2 separate regions of the Homo sapiens genome follow, and region 1 is linked to region 2. The links are contacts of gene promoters, found by promoter capture Hi-C in human tissues and cell types (Jung and others, 2019). All regions are on one chromosome and are shown on one strand. Each heading gives the region's core, a stretch centred on a gene start or on the middle of the fragment in contact. The rest is flanking DNA. Distances are from core to core; before and after follow the strand shown.

The links. Contacts are between HindIII fragments. The study calls those that stand out against the background at their distance.
Region 1: a fragment that was not itself captured here is called in contact with the fragment with the promoter of ARMC3 in region 2 in 1 of the 25 tissues and cell types used here (hippocampus).

What each region holds. Positions count from the first base shown.
Region 1 is chr10:22,969,200-22,976,058 of GRCh38, reverse strand. The region is part of intron 8 of ARMC3 (armadillo repeat containing 3); the gene reads right to left. Among named protein-coding and RNA genes, the nearest start is that of ARMC3, 45 kb to the right of the region's middle. The HindIII fragment of the contact is 4,431 bases long and covers 738-5,168 here.
Region 2 is chr10:22,923,793-22,931,104 of GRCh38, reverse strand. It overlaps ARMC3 (armadillo repeat containing 3), which reads right to left and starts at 3,052. Exons shown (of 19, transcript NM_173081.5): 1 at 2,999-3,052. The HindIII fragment of the contact is 8,735 bases long and covers 1-6,805 here.

The sequences.
Region 1 (6,859 bases), core at 1,704-4,203, 45 kb before region 2:
TCCTCCTCATCCACAATTGGGCTAAAGGAGTCCACTGCCCTTTCAATTGATGGGAAAACAGGCAAAGGGCACCCTGTAGGCTTCATCTATTCATTAAAACTAGGCCCAGGTAGAGTCCTCTGCATTCCATGATGAGCATTAAAAACCAAAATTATGAAACACTGCATAGAAAGGAGAACAGAGATGGTCTAAAAATAAGTATTCATGAGGAAAAAAGATTAAGTGAAACAAAAACAAGAATCCAAAGTATAGTGGAAAAAACTAGCTTCCTGAATTAGGGGAAAAAATCATGACTCTGGAGATCAAAAGGCTTGCCTGTGTAGTGGAGACAGTGGAGAGGGGGACTTAGACATATTTCGGCAAAATTTTCAAACTCAGGATAAAAAATTCTACCTTAATACAGCAAAAAAATCATATATGCAAAATAATGCAAATCAGGCTTGAACAATACAAAAGCAATCTTCATAGATAAGCTTTTCATTTTTGTTTTTTTGAGATGGACTTTCTCTGTTGTTGCCCAGGCTGGAGTGCGATGGTGCGATCTTGGCTCACTGCAACCTCCACCTCCTAGGTTCAAGTGATTGTCCTACCTCAGCCTCCCGAGTAGCTGGGATTACAAGCATGTATCACTACACCTGGCTAATTTTTTTGTATTTTTAGTAGAGATGGGGTTTCACGGTTTCACCATGTTGGCCAGGCTGGCCTTGAACTCCTGACCTCAGGTGATCCACCCGCCTCGGCCTCCCAAACCGCTGGGAGTACAGGCGTGAGCCACCGTGCCTGTCATCACTTCCATAGATATTTAAGGAGAAATGTTATGATGCAACAATTCCAAACCCAGTTAAATTGTCATATATGTTTGAAGGCAACAAACCTATGCACAGGTAAGGTAAGGTCTCAAAGCATATCACTATTGGATATACCTTAAAAAAATTTTAACTGAAAAATATACTCTGGTTAATTTGAGAAATGAATCAAATAAAATCTTAAGGACAGGTAAGCTTTATTATGAGAAATTGACAGCACACACTGAAACAGATTCAATATGTATATAACTCTAAATGACAAATGTGGTTAAAATTGAATGTAATGACAGTGATTCTTAAAAAAGAGAGTCTTGGCCAGGGTGGGGCTCATGCCTATAATCCCAGCACTTCGGGAGGCCAAGGCAGGTGGATCACTTGAGGTCAGGGATTCAAGACCAGCCTGTTCAACATGGTGAAACCCTGTCTCTACTAAAAATAAAAAATTAGATGAGCATGATGGCACGCACCTATAATCCCAGCTACTTGGGAGGCTGGGGCAAGAGAATCACTTGGACCCAGGAGCCGGAGGTTGCAGTGACCTGAGATCACTCCACTGCACTCCAGCCTGGGCAACAGAGCGAGACTCAGTCTCAAAACAAACAAACAAACAAACAAAAAAAAACAGATTTTAGAGAGGGGAATCTATAACCTCTTATTGATCTTAGAAACATCAGAAAGGGAAAGAATTGTGGAAGCAAAATTGCTAAATATCTAAAATAACTATAGTAACTTTATCTTTAAAATAACTGTTTATAAAAGTTTTTAAAATCTATACAAAGAAATGAACAGCATAGAAAAATAAACAGAAAGCATAAAACATAAAACATGATGTCAGAAATAAGGGTGAATATAGTAGCTATAAAAATAAATCTAACAATATTTATTTGCCTTGCCTTTTGGACCTAGTGGTAGTGAAGATTTCCCAATATTGCTAATCTCTGGGGACCTCATCATCTCTTGCTTATTCCCTTAACCCTAATTATACTTCTGAAAGTAGTTCCTTCATTTGTCTCTTTTAAAACCATCAGGAGTCTCCAGAATTTTTTTTCTGCCAAGACCATGTTTGATAATACATGGTAATCTTAATATCAAATTAGAATCAAAAGCTAAAGAGCAATAAAAGTGAGATTTAAAAAAATCAGTAGTGGATAAAAAACATAAAGTGAAGTCATTTAATATAAAATTACAAGAGAAAGGCCGACCGCGGTGGCTCACGCCTGTAATCCCAGCACTCTGGGAGGCCGAGGTGGGTGGATCATGAGGTCAGGAGATCAAGACCATCCTGGCTAACATGGTGAAACCCCGTCTTTACTAAAAATACAAAAAATTAGCTGGGCCTGGTGGCAGGCACCTGTAGACCCAGCTACTAGGGAGGCTGAGGCAGCAGAATGGTGAGAATCTGGGAGGTGGAGCTTGGAGTGAGCCAAGATCGCGCCACTGCACTCCAGCCTGGGTGACAGAGCGAGATTCTGTCTCAAAAAAAAAAAAAAAAAAAAAAAGAAAGACAAAGAAAAAATTACAAGAGAAAATAAAAATAATATAGTGGGAAACTTCTAACATACTACTCTTCATCTGTGACAGATCATATAGCTAAAAAAAGAATAAGGATAAAACTGTACAATATAATTTATAAAATTGAACTAAAAGATAAACTCTGCATTCTACAGGAAATATATCTTTTTGTCTATTCAGAAAATATTTATTCATTCCATCCATTGTTTATCCTTATCTTAATATCCTTAATATAGAAATGAATTGCATATGATAAGTGTTTATTTAAATAGTAAGCAGAGTATGCCTTTCCAAGATTTAATAGAACACTTGTACAAATAGATCCTATACCAGGCCTCAAAGAATATGCAATACTAGTCCAAAGCAAAGTTTGCATTTTTAACTATAAATCAAAGATGTTAGGATTTATTATTATTATTATTATTATTATTATTATTATTATTATTAAGGGTCTTGCTCAGTTACCCAGGCTGGAGTGCACTGGGATGATCACATCTCACTGCAGCCTCAAACTCCTGGGCTCAAGTGATCTTCCTTCCTCAGCCTCCCAAGTAGCTGGGACTACAGGTGCACAACATCACGCATGGCTCATTTAAAAAAAATTTTATGTAGAGATGGGGGGTCTTGCTCTGTTGACCAGGCTGGTCTTGAACTCCTGGTGTCAAGTGATCTTCCCACCTCAACCTCCCAAAGTGCTAGGATTACAGGTGTGAGCCACTGTGCCCAGCCCCAAAATGTTACAAATTAAAATGAGGAACTTTGAGCTCTGGGTACTGACTGAGAAAGATGATCTGGGGGCTCCCTGCAGGTCCTTCCCTCAAAGGGTTGGCCCAATATGCTAATGTAGTTAAGAGACTAAAATACTTGCTGCATAAGACTGAAATGGAAAATAATGATAAATCAACCTATCTATAGATAATATAAAATGATGGTGCATACTTTTAAAATAGCTTTCGTAATACTTATCAACACATTTCAAGGAGGGTATAATAAACAAGAGGAAGTCCTGAAGAGGTAAGAAAATGATCCCAGGATGGCCTGGGGACATGCGTGGAGAGAGACTAAACAAGATCTGAATTCTTCGGTCTGAAAAAGTGATGTTTGAAGGGAACATAATACAATCACAGATGACATATATGAAGTAAATACAGTTAGTCATTAGATTCTAACATAAAGACAGGAGACACAACTTGAAACTGGAATGTAGTTATTTTAGAACTAACAAAAGGAAGTAGAATCAGAAAACATTAAGTGCCAGAAAGGATTTAAAGACTATCTGCTTGAATTCCTTTCTATTACAAATAACCAATTTCAACAAATGATGCTAGGAAAAATTTATGTCTACATGAAAAAGAACGAACTGGGACCATAATTTTATACCCTATATAAAAATAAACTCAAAATGGATCAAGACCTAAATATAAGAGCTACAGCTACAAAACTCCTAGAAGAAAACATAGGGCAAAAGCTTTGATATTTGGTAATGAGTTATTGGATATGACACCAACAGCAAACAGCATAGCCAACAAAATAGATAAATTGGAATGCACCACAATTTAAAACTTTTTGCATCAAAGCACACAATCAACAGAGTAAAAAGGCAAACCACAGAATGGGAGAAACTGTTTTCAAATAATATCTGATAAGGGGTTAATATCCAGAATATATAAAGAACTTCTGTAACTTAGCATCAAGAAAACAACCCAATCAAAAAATGGGAGAAGGACTTGAATAGATGTCTCCAAAGAAGATATGCAAGTGGCCAGTAAGTACACGATAAAGATGCTTGAAGTTGCTAATCATTAGGGCATGCAAATAAAAAGTACAATGAGATAGCACCTCACGCCCATTAGGATGGCTACTATCAACAAACAGAAAATAGCAAGTGTGGGCCAGGATGTGGAGAAATTGGAACTCTTGTGCATTGGTTATGGGAATGTAAAATGGTACAGCTGCTACAGAAAACAATATGGCAGTTTCTCAAAAAAATTAAAAATAGAGGACGGGCATGGTGGCTCACACCTGTAATCCCAGCACTTTGAGAGGCTGAGTTGGGAAGATTGCCTGAGGTCAGGAGTTCAAGACCAGCTTGGCTAACATGGTGAAATCATGTCTCTACTACAAATACAAAAATTAGCTGGGTGTGGTGGTGCGTGCCTGTAGTCCCAGCTACTCAGGAGGCTGAGGCAGGAGAATCGCTGGAAGCCAGGAGGTGGAGGTTGCAGTGAGCTGAGATCACACCACTGCACTCCAGCCTGGGTGATGGAGCGAGACTGTCTCAAAAAAAAAAAAAAAAAAACTAAAAATATAATTACCATATGATTCAGTAACTCCACTTCTAGGTATATATCCAAAATAATTGAAATCAGGGACTCAAAGAGATATCTGTATACCCACATTCTTAGCAACATTATTCACATTAACCAAAAGGCAGATGTAACCAACTGTCCATCCATGGTTGAAAGGATAAACAAAATGTGGTCTATACAGGCAATGGATATTCTTTGGCCCTAAGAAGGGAGGAAATTGTGACACATGCTACAACATGAATGAAACTTAAGGACATCGTGCCAAGTGCTATGCATTTGCAAAAGGACAAATGCTGTATGATTCCATATATATGAGGGATCTAGAGTCATCAAATTCATAGAGACAAAGAATAGTGGTTGCCAGGAGTTTGTATGAGGAAGGAGTGGGAATGATTGTTTAATTGGTATACTTTTAGTTTTGCTAAATGAAAAGATTTCTGTGGATGGACAGCACCACAAAAATGTGAATACATTTAATGCCACTGAAATGTACACTTAAAAATGATGAAGACGGTAAATTTCATAGTATTTGTATTTCACCACAATTTAAAAAGCAAGAATAGGATTGATTCCTTTTCTTCAAGCAAAACCGCTCCCCTTCTTGAGTTCTTCAGTTCTGTGAGTGGCACCATTTTACTTCTAGCTGTCTAAGCCAGAAACCTGGCCTCATCCTTGGTATCGCCTTCTTCCTCTTTCAACCAACATAGTCATTCAAAAATACTCACACATGTGCTGGTGGTTCTCCTTGCAAAGTGCCTTGAGCCAGTCCTGAACACCGCATCTCTGTTTCAGGGCACCTTCACATCTCACCTAGATTACTACAGCAACCCCCTTTTGGTCTTCTGTGTCTGGTCCTAAACATTTCCAATCTCTTCTCCACTTTGCAACACGAGTTCTCTTTCTTTAACAAGTGAAAATCCATGATGTTCCCTCCCTTCTGAGTAACTTCAATGGCTCTTTGTTGCCATTAAAATAAAGTCCAAAATCCTTAACTGGGCTTATAATGTCCATGAGCACTGGGCTCCTCACCACGTCCATAGCCTGAGCGCTCAGTGTTCTGTGGCTTTCTGGTCATTGGCCATTCTGAAAACTTTCGGTTCTGGAACTTACCATGTTATCCCTCCTCTGGCTTTTATACACCCTGTTCCTTCTCAGAACCACTTCTCCTCCTCCATCCCATCTGAACCTTCTTTGACCAGACAATTTATCTTATTTACTCTAGGTCCTAGCTTGTTAATCACTGATTTCAGAAATATTTTTCTGATCCAGGTCTGTGCTGGGAGCCTTCCTGGGTGATCCTGTGTTTCCATCATTAATCACTTTGAACACTGCATTGTAAGTGCCTGTTTACTTTCCTGTTCTGGGTGAGAACTCAGTAAGAAATCATGAGTAAACGAATATATACATTGTTCTGGAGAAGTTATAGTTCACTCAAAATCACTTAAGTAGGTCGTTACAATGCCAGTAGTGGAACTAGTACTAGAACTCTAGTACCAGGAACTCTGCAGCATACTTTCCAGTACTGTGGCACATGATGGGTAGGCATCATCAAACTCACCACCTCAAAATGAGTGAGAACAGTCTTAGAATGACCCAGCCACATTTGATACATATAAATACTCTCCAAAGAGATGCTGAGATACGCAAACATTTCAGGTTTGGCATTGTCCGTGTCTCCCCATTTTACTTCTCTTCGGGTCTCACTTAGCTAAGAAGAACTAGGATAGAAGGAAGAGAGAACTGACCAGCTAGAATAATGTCTAAGTTCCATTTGATAGAATACTGGGTAAACCAACTTTTGCCAATATGAAGAAACCTTGATTTCACAACCAGTCTCTCAAATAGGCATTTATAATGTAACTCATGAGGCCCCTCTATGCACACTACATACTGGATGGTGAAATCTTGCTTACTGCATTAAAGCTTTGTCCTGAAGAAATCCAGTGTGTGCTGAAAATGGAGTGTTTCCCATAGTATACATATCAATATACAGATGTGAGTATATATGTTTAGAATATAAATCACTTAAAATAGTCAATGCTGTCATCATTTCTAAAAGTGGTGCAGAAGGGGAAAAATAAGATCACATCTTTTATTAGATAAAAGACTCCAAATATACATAAATTAAAACTATAATTTCATCTGTGCTTGTGCTGTAATTAATCTCTCATATTTTACAGATTTATATCAACATAACTTGTCACTGAAATGCAAATTGTATTATGTATATAG
Region 2 (7,312 bases), core at 1,803-4,302:
ATACAAAAATTAGCCGGGTGTGGTGGCACGTGCCTTGTAGTCCCAGCTACTCAGGAGGCTGAGGCACAAGAATCACTTGAACCCGGGAGGCGGAGGCTGCAGTGAGCCGAGATCGCACCACTGCATTCCAGCCTGGGCAACAGAGTGAGACTGTCTCAAAAAAAAAAAAGAAACTTTTCAAGATGTTAATGTCTATTAGAATAACCCAGGAAATCTATCTAGTTTTCTTCAGTGAGAGTTTGTGGAATTATGTTTGACATCAGGGCCATCTTAAACGGTATATCGTAGGAGCAATCTTAAACGGTATATCATAGCCTTAAGGAAATTACCATAGTCTCAGTAGAAATCCTAGGAAGTAGAAAATCCTTGGGGAGAATCTACAGTGTCAGGGTTAGCTCAAATTGCATGTCAAGGGTCAAAAGCAACTCCTAGCATTAGAGACACTGACCAGAATTTATCACATACATTAAAAAGCCACGTCTTCATAGAAACTCCTAGATACTTCTGAAAGGCATTTATTCTAGGTCTCTAACTTCAGACCACACTACTTTTAAGACTTTGGAGGGCCTGGGCAAGCTTATTCACACAATAGCCAATATATTAAAATGTTAAAATGTGCCTGCATCGCCCATTAAATGTCATTTGCATCATAAAAACTTTTGAAATTTGTATTTGAAATTACTCAGCAATCAGTACATACACCTGGAAATTCTTGTAAAATGAGAAAATTGTTTTCAAATGTAATAAAAATTTATATTAATAAAACATTTAATTAACACTAATTTTTCAGTTCTCTTTTCATATTTTAGAGCCAATATAAGCATTTTTTTCAAATCTCAAACATCTTCCTTAGGTGCTTGAAAAGTGAACAGGCCCTAGACCTTGTGCCTATAATATTTCAGGCAGAGAGGCAGAAACTATTCTGGGCAAATGAGAATCTATCCTACAATTAATCTCTAGGAAAAAAAAAAGAGAGAGTTTATAGCACTCTATAACCAATTCCAAGACAGAGCAGCCTTTGATTTATAAAATAATTGCTTATGAATAATATTCAGGAAGCAATTTAATTACACCTGCATAAAGTTGTTTTAAATCATCTGATTTTCACTTAGGAACTAATTTTTCCTACTTCAGGATAGTGTTTTTGAGCAATTGCATAGTGCAGAGGTTAGAAGAGCTTACACAGACAGTATTGCAATGATAGAGTGTCTCCTAAGCTAAAGAATGAAGTTAAAAGCCTATGTGTTTTATCATGGCCCGGCGTGGTGGCTCACTCCTGTAATCCCAGCACTTTGGGAGGCTGAGGCGGGTGGATCACCTGAGGTCAGGAGCTCAAGACCAGCCTGGACAACATGGCAAAACTCTGTCTCTACTAAAAATACAAAAATTAGCCTGGAGTGGCGGTGGCATGTGCCTGCATTCCCAGCTACTGGGGAGGCTGAGGCAGGAGAATTGCTTGAGGCCGGGAGGCGGAGGTTGCAATAAGCTGAGATCACCCCATTGCACTCCAGCCTGGGTGACAGAGCGAGACTCTGTCTCCTCCCCCAAAAAAAGCCTATGTGTTTTATCACCATATTGGGTATGATAGTTAATGGAGGAGAGACTGAACAGCTGACATAGGTCGGTGGCAATGAGCTATGGAGATGATCCTTACAAGGGTAATACATTTCACTGTGGAGAATTTGGAAAACAAGGGCACAACGAATAAAATAAAAATCACCCAAAGATAAGCTCAGAGAGATCAATACTATTTCTTTTCTTTTCCTTTCCTTTCCTTTCCTTTCCTTTCTTTTTCTTTTTCTTTCTCTTTCTCTCTCTCTTTCTCTCTCTCTCTCTCCCTCTCTCTCTCTCTTCTCTTTTTTTCTTTTTCTTTTTCTTTTTTGAGACAGAGTCTCACTCTGTTGCCCAGGCTGGAGAGTGGCCTGATCTTGGCTCATTGCAACCTCCACCTCCCAGGTTTAAGAGATTCTCCTGCCTCAGCCTCCTGAGTAGCTGGGATTACAGGTACCCGCCACCACGCTCGGCTAATTTTTGTATTTTCAGTAGAGACAGGTTTCCCCACATTGACCAGGTTGGTCTCGAACTCCTGACTTCAGGCGATCCACCCGCCTCAGCCTCCCAAAGTGCTGGGGTTGTAGGCGTGAGCCACCGTACCTGGCTTTGTGTGTTTTTCTAAAGTGATTTTAACATCCTGCCTCAACTTCTATCCCCTACTTTCACCTTCCCTTCCTGGGTTCATATTCCTACTAAATTCTTATATTAACAAATAAATTCATGAAGTCTCAGTTTCCCTTCATTGCTTTAATAATCTCCAGTGGATTAGCATAACATGCCATTACAAATATTTTAAAATCCCTTAGCTATCTAGCCAGTCTCTGATTGTTGAAATTTGTTTCTAATTTTCTGGAAATATGGACAGGGCTGAAAGAACGTCCTTGGACATAAAATTTTCATCCATTATCCCCAACTATTTCTTTAGGATAAATCTCTAGCAGTAAATTAACTGGGTGAAAACTTCAGGGCATTGGATATGCAAACAACTCTGCTCTAAAAATGCATCTTCTTGACTACTGGAGCCATTTTTTTTTTCACGAGTTGATTGGTCCTTTGTATTTGTTCTTCGTGAACGTTCAGCCTATGATTTTAAATATTTTCTAATGAGTTCTGCTTTGAGAAGATTTAAAGAGGAGGAGGGCTCAAGAAATCGAGGCCACTTCTGAGTTGCTCACAGTCAAGTAACGGAATCTGACTTGATCTCACCTCAGATCCCCTCTCGGGCCTCAGTTTTGTCACCTGTTGAATGGGAGGTGGCGGGATGCTTACGAAACCCACCCCAAGCCCCGTCTAACCCTGCGGGCGCGAGGCAGAAACTAACAACGCCCAGCAAGGTGTTGCCTCACTGACCCAAGCAGTCTGCGCCCACGTGGCACCTTCTCCTTTCCCAGGTTTTCCTCAGGCCTCTGCCTTGGGCCTCCCCACCCCACGGGGTTACCTTTACCTGCCGGGAGATCCCGCCGAGTAGCTAGCTGCTCCGCAAACCCAGCAGACGAACCCCCAGTCCCTTGTTGTGCCTCGTTGCTAGGCGACGCCACGCCGCGCCGCGCCTGCGCCCTGGGAACGCTCGGGGCTGCTAGGGCGCCCATTGTCCCGCCGAGGGCAGCGGCCAGTGCGGGAGGAGCCAAGTGCGTCCGCGATTACCTGAATCCAGTGCTTTAGGGGAGAATGGAAACTGGGGGTGGAAGCTGTAAATCAAGAGGCAGTTCAGCCTCAGTTTCTGGCCCAAGGACTGGCTGTGGGTTCAAATACGCAAATACTATTGCATTCTTCCAAATAGAGGCGTCAGCCGGAATCTCTATGCAGATGAAACCCACATCAGCCACCTCCTGCCCAGGCTCCGTTAAGCTGCAGACCTGCACTGCCACATCTCTTTGCACTAGGATGTCCAATCCGTTTCCACAGAACTTCTCATGGCCCTTCAAAGCCCCGTTCTCTTCCTCTTTCTTTCCTCTTCCTGCCATTCTTCCAATTGCCTAGACTCAGAAGGAGCTTCAATTTCCCTTCTTCCTCCCATGCCCCCCAACCACAGTCATCACTTCAGCCACTTCTTGGCGGCTTACATTTTGTTTCCTGCTTGTTCCCTTTCTCATATCCTTATTGTCACTTCAATCCAGCTCGTCATTTTTTGGCCTTCTGGCTGAGAAATTCAGTTGCTCTCTGCTTACAGTTCTTTCTACGTATCACAGGCAAATCGGCCATCCAGAAATCATCGTTCCAGTCTTGTCACTTCCCTACTCAAATGTCAGCGGCTTCCTAAGATAAATTTTCAACACATTGGCCTGGAATTTAAGACCGTCTGCTCCATCTCTACTCCATCTGTGCAACCACATTTTCAACCGATCTCCACCATCCAAGCTCCAGCCAAACTTACTGTTCCCGAAATTTTCCACACTTTTCTCTAGATTTTCTTGCTTATCTGTTCATCACTTCATTTTTCAACAAATATTTATAAAGTAGCTTCTATTTCCCAGGTCATGTGCAATACCTGAAATATTCTCTCATTTCCACTTAATTAAGCCCAGCTCAAATGCCATCTTCATAAAATATTTTTTGATTGCCTTTAGCAAAAAGTCTCTCCCTCTCCTCTTAGACTTTGCAAATTCCGTCTCCTACCGGCCCCTGTTGGTCTCCCAGTCCTAAGAATGATAGATGCTTCTTATAATTGCTACTTTTATATATCTTATGTTCTCTTCTCACCATTTAAATTGCCTGATAAACAGCTTTATAACAATTATTTGTATTCAGTTTTCCATGGTCAAATATCCGGTGTGACTTCTGTATAGAAAAGATCTTAAGTAATGGTCATGAAAGTAGGAAAAGGATTAAGACCAAGTAGCATCAAGGAAACTAAGGAGGGAGTTTCAAGAATATAAGCGTCATCAAGTGTTATATGATTGGACCTTGAATAATATACACCTGTATTTTCAGCCTCTCCCTGTCTTCCACGTTTTTTCCTGTTGGTATATAATTATGTTGAAGCCCCTCCCATGCCTCATCTAAAAAGCAAAAACAAATAAAATCCCTTTGATGTTGTTGTTCCTTCTAACTATTATCCTATTGTTTTCTTTCTCTTCTTGGTCATGACTTTTCAAAAAAAGTAGCCAGCATTAGATACTTACATATTTTTAACTTCCTATTCACTCTTCAGACTATAGTGACCTGTTTTCATCCCAGCACTAAAACTATCCATATCCATTGGATGCTTCTTAGCCCTCATCTTGCTTGACATTGCTGCTGTATATAATACTCAATGACACCTCATTCTTGAAACTCTTTTCTTGGTTTCCTTGGTACTACTTGCTCTTGATCTTCCTCCTACTTTCTTTTATGACCATCATTTAAGATCTTTTCTATACAACAGGGTCTATCTATGTTGCCCAGGCTTGTCTTGAATTCCTGGCCTCAAGGAATCCTCCTGACTCAGCCTCCTGAGTAGCTGGGATTTTATAGGGATATATGCCCTATTGTGGTTTTTTTACAGAATCTTAAATGTTGAAATTTCCCAGGGATCTGTCCCTTGTTCTCTTTTCACACTATATGCTTTTCTAGGTGATCTTATTTATATTTGTGACTTCAACTATTGCACATATGTAGCTCCTCATCAGACTCCGGTACTGAACTCTAGACCCATATATCCTACTTGCTACACAGTTCCACCTGGATACCCACAGGCACTTCAGTCATCAACACTACCCACCTAAACTCATCATTTTCCCAGTATAGACATGTTTTTCCATTTATCTAGGGGTACCAACAGGTGTTCTACCCAAACAGACCACCAAGTCTGACAGGCATCCTAGACTTATTCTCCTTTTCATGCAGTTAATTATTGGATTCCCCTAAAAGTTTCTTGAATTTATTCTCACCTTCCAATTCCCATAGCCCAAGTACAGAAAGTCACTGTCCTTTACCTGAATTCATCTAACAAGCCTTCTGGCAGGTCTTCCATCCTCTAGACTCATCCTAGCTTCAATTCATCTTCTCCAAGACAATCAAAGTAATCATTCTAAGATGCAAATTTAATTTGTCTGTGTCCTTGCTGGCTCCAATAGCTCTAACACACAAATGATGAAATGCAACAAGATTCTTAAATTGACACTCAAGATCTTTCTTGTTCTGACTGACTGCTTCCTACTACAATAGCTTCTGTCATTGTTCAAAAATATAGCAAACTGCTCAGCATTCTCCAAGTACACCATGACATTTTGAGCCCTTCACTCCCCTAATCAGCCTGAAAACCACTTATTCATCTTTCAAATTTTAACTTAGTCATCATTTCCTCCAAAAAGTCTTTATTAGCTTCTTCAGACAGAGGGAAGCATTTCTCATTCGTTGCTATAGCTGTACCTTACACTTGCTCTATTTGTTATTTTCACATGATACTGTAATGTATTTGTTGACATGTATGTCTCCCCACCTAGGCTGTTTCTAAATGTTCTTCAAGTAACTAAAGCTTTTTTAATACTCACTATGAGACTGGCAATTATGAAGTGGTTAAAGTGCACAATTAAATCCACACCGTAATCCTGTGAGGTCTGAATGAAGTACAGGGTGATTAGCAGAAGGTCACTCTACTAGTAAATGGTAAAGACAGGACTTGAACTAAGGTCAGCTTGACTTTTATATCCATGTTCTGCACCAATATATCATACCAGCCCATCCTGAAATTATAGTGTTATAACAAGTTGTGATTTATTTTATTTTATTTTATTATACTTTAAGTTCTGCACAATGTGCAGGTTTGTTACATTTGTATACATGTGCCATGTTGGTGTGCTGCACCCATTAACTCGTCATTTACATTACGTATATCTCCTAATGCTATCCCTCTCCCCTCCCCCCACCCCATGACAGGCCCCAGTGTGTGATGTTCCCTTGTGATGTGTTTTTATGAAATAATTAAAACTACTGCTTTAATTCTTGTTTTATAGACTTAGTCTTTGCTGAGTATGTCAAATTTGGGCGGGAGATCATGTTTATTTTAACATATACAGTTGGATGGGTTTGGACAAGGGTTTGCAGTTGTGTAACCATCACCCCAGGGAAGTTTCAGAGACCATCTCCATCATCCCAAATTTCCCTCATGCCCCTTTGAAGTCAAATCTCTCCCTCTAACTCACTTCCCTGGGAACAACTGCTCTGCTTTCTCTCCCTATCATTTTGGCTTTTCTAGAATGTCTTATAAACAGAACCATGCAATATGCTGTATTTTGTGTCTGGCTTCTTTAATTTAGCATAGTTTAGGAGATTTGTCCATGGTGTTGCATTTATCCATAGCTTATCTCACTTTATGGCTGAGTGGTATTGCACTGCATAGATGTACAACATCCATTTACTGATTGATGGACATTCTGGTACTTTCCAGTTTGGGACTGTTATAAATAAATATGGTTAAATATACAGGGTGTTGTGTGAACGTGTTTCTCTCTTCTTGGGAAAATACCCAGGAGTGGAATTTCTGGGTCTTATGTCATGTGTATGTATAATGTTATAACAACCTGCCAAATTGCTTTCCAAAGGAACTATACTGTATTTGCATTCCCACCAGCAAAAATGAGAGATGCCATTGCTTCATGTGTTCTACAGCACTTGATGTTGTCAGTCCTTTTAATTTTAGCCATTTTAGTGGGAGTATAATGGTATCTCCCTCTGGGTTTAATTTGCATTTCCTTCATGACTAGTGATGATGATCCCATTCTATGTGATCACTAGCCATTTCTGTACCTTCTTTTGTGAAATGCCTGTTAAAATATTT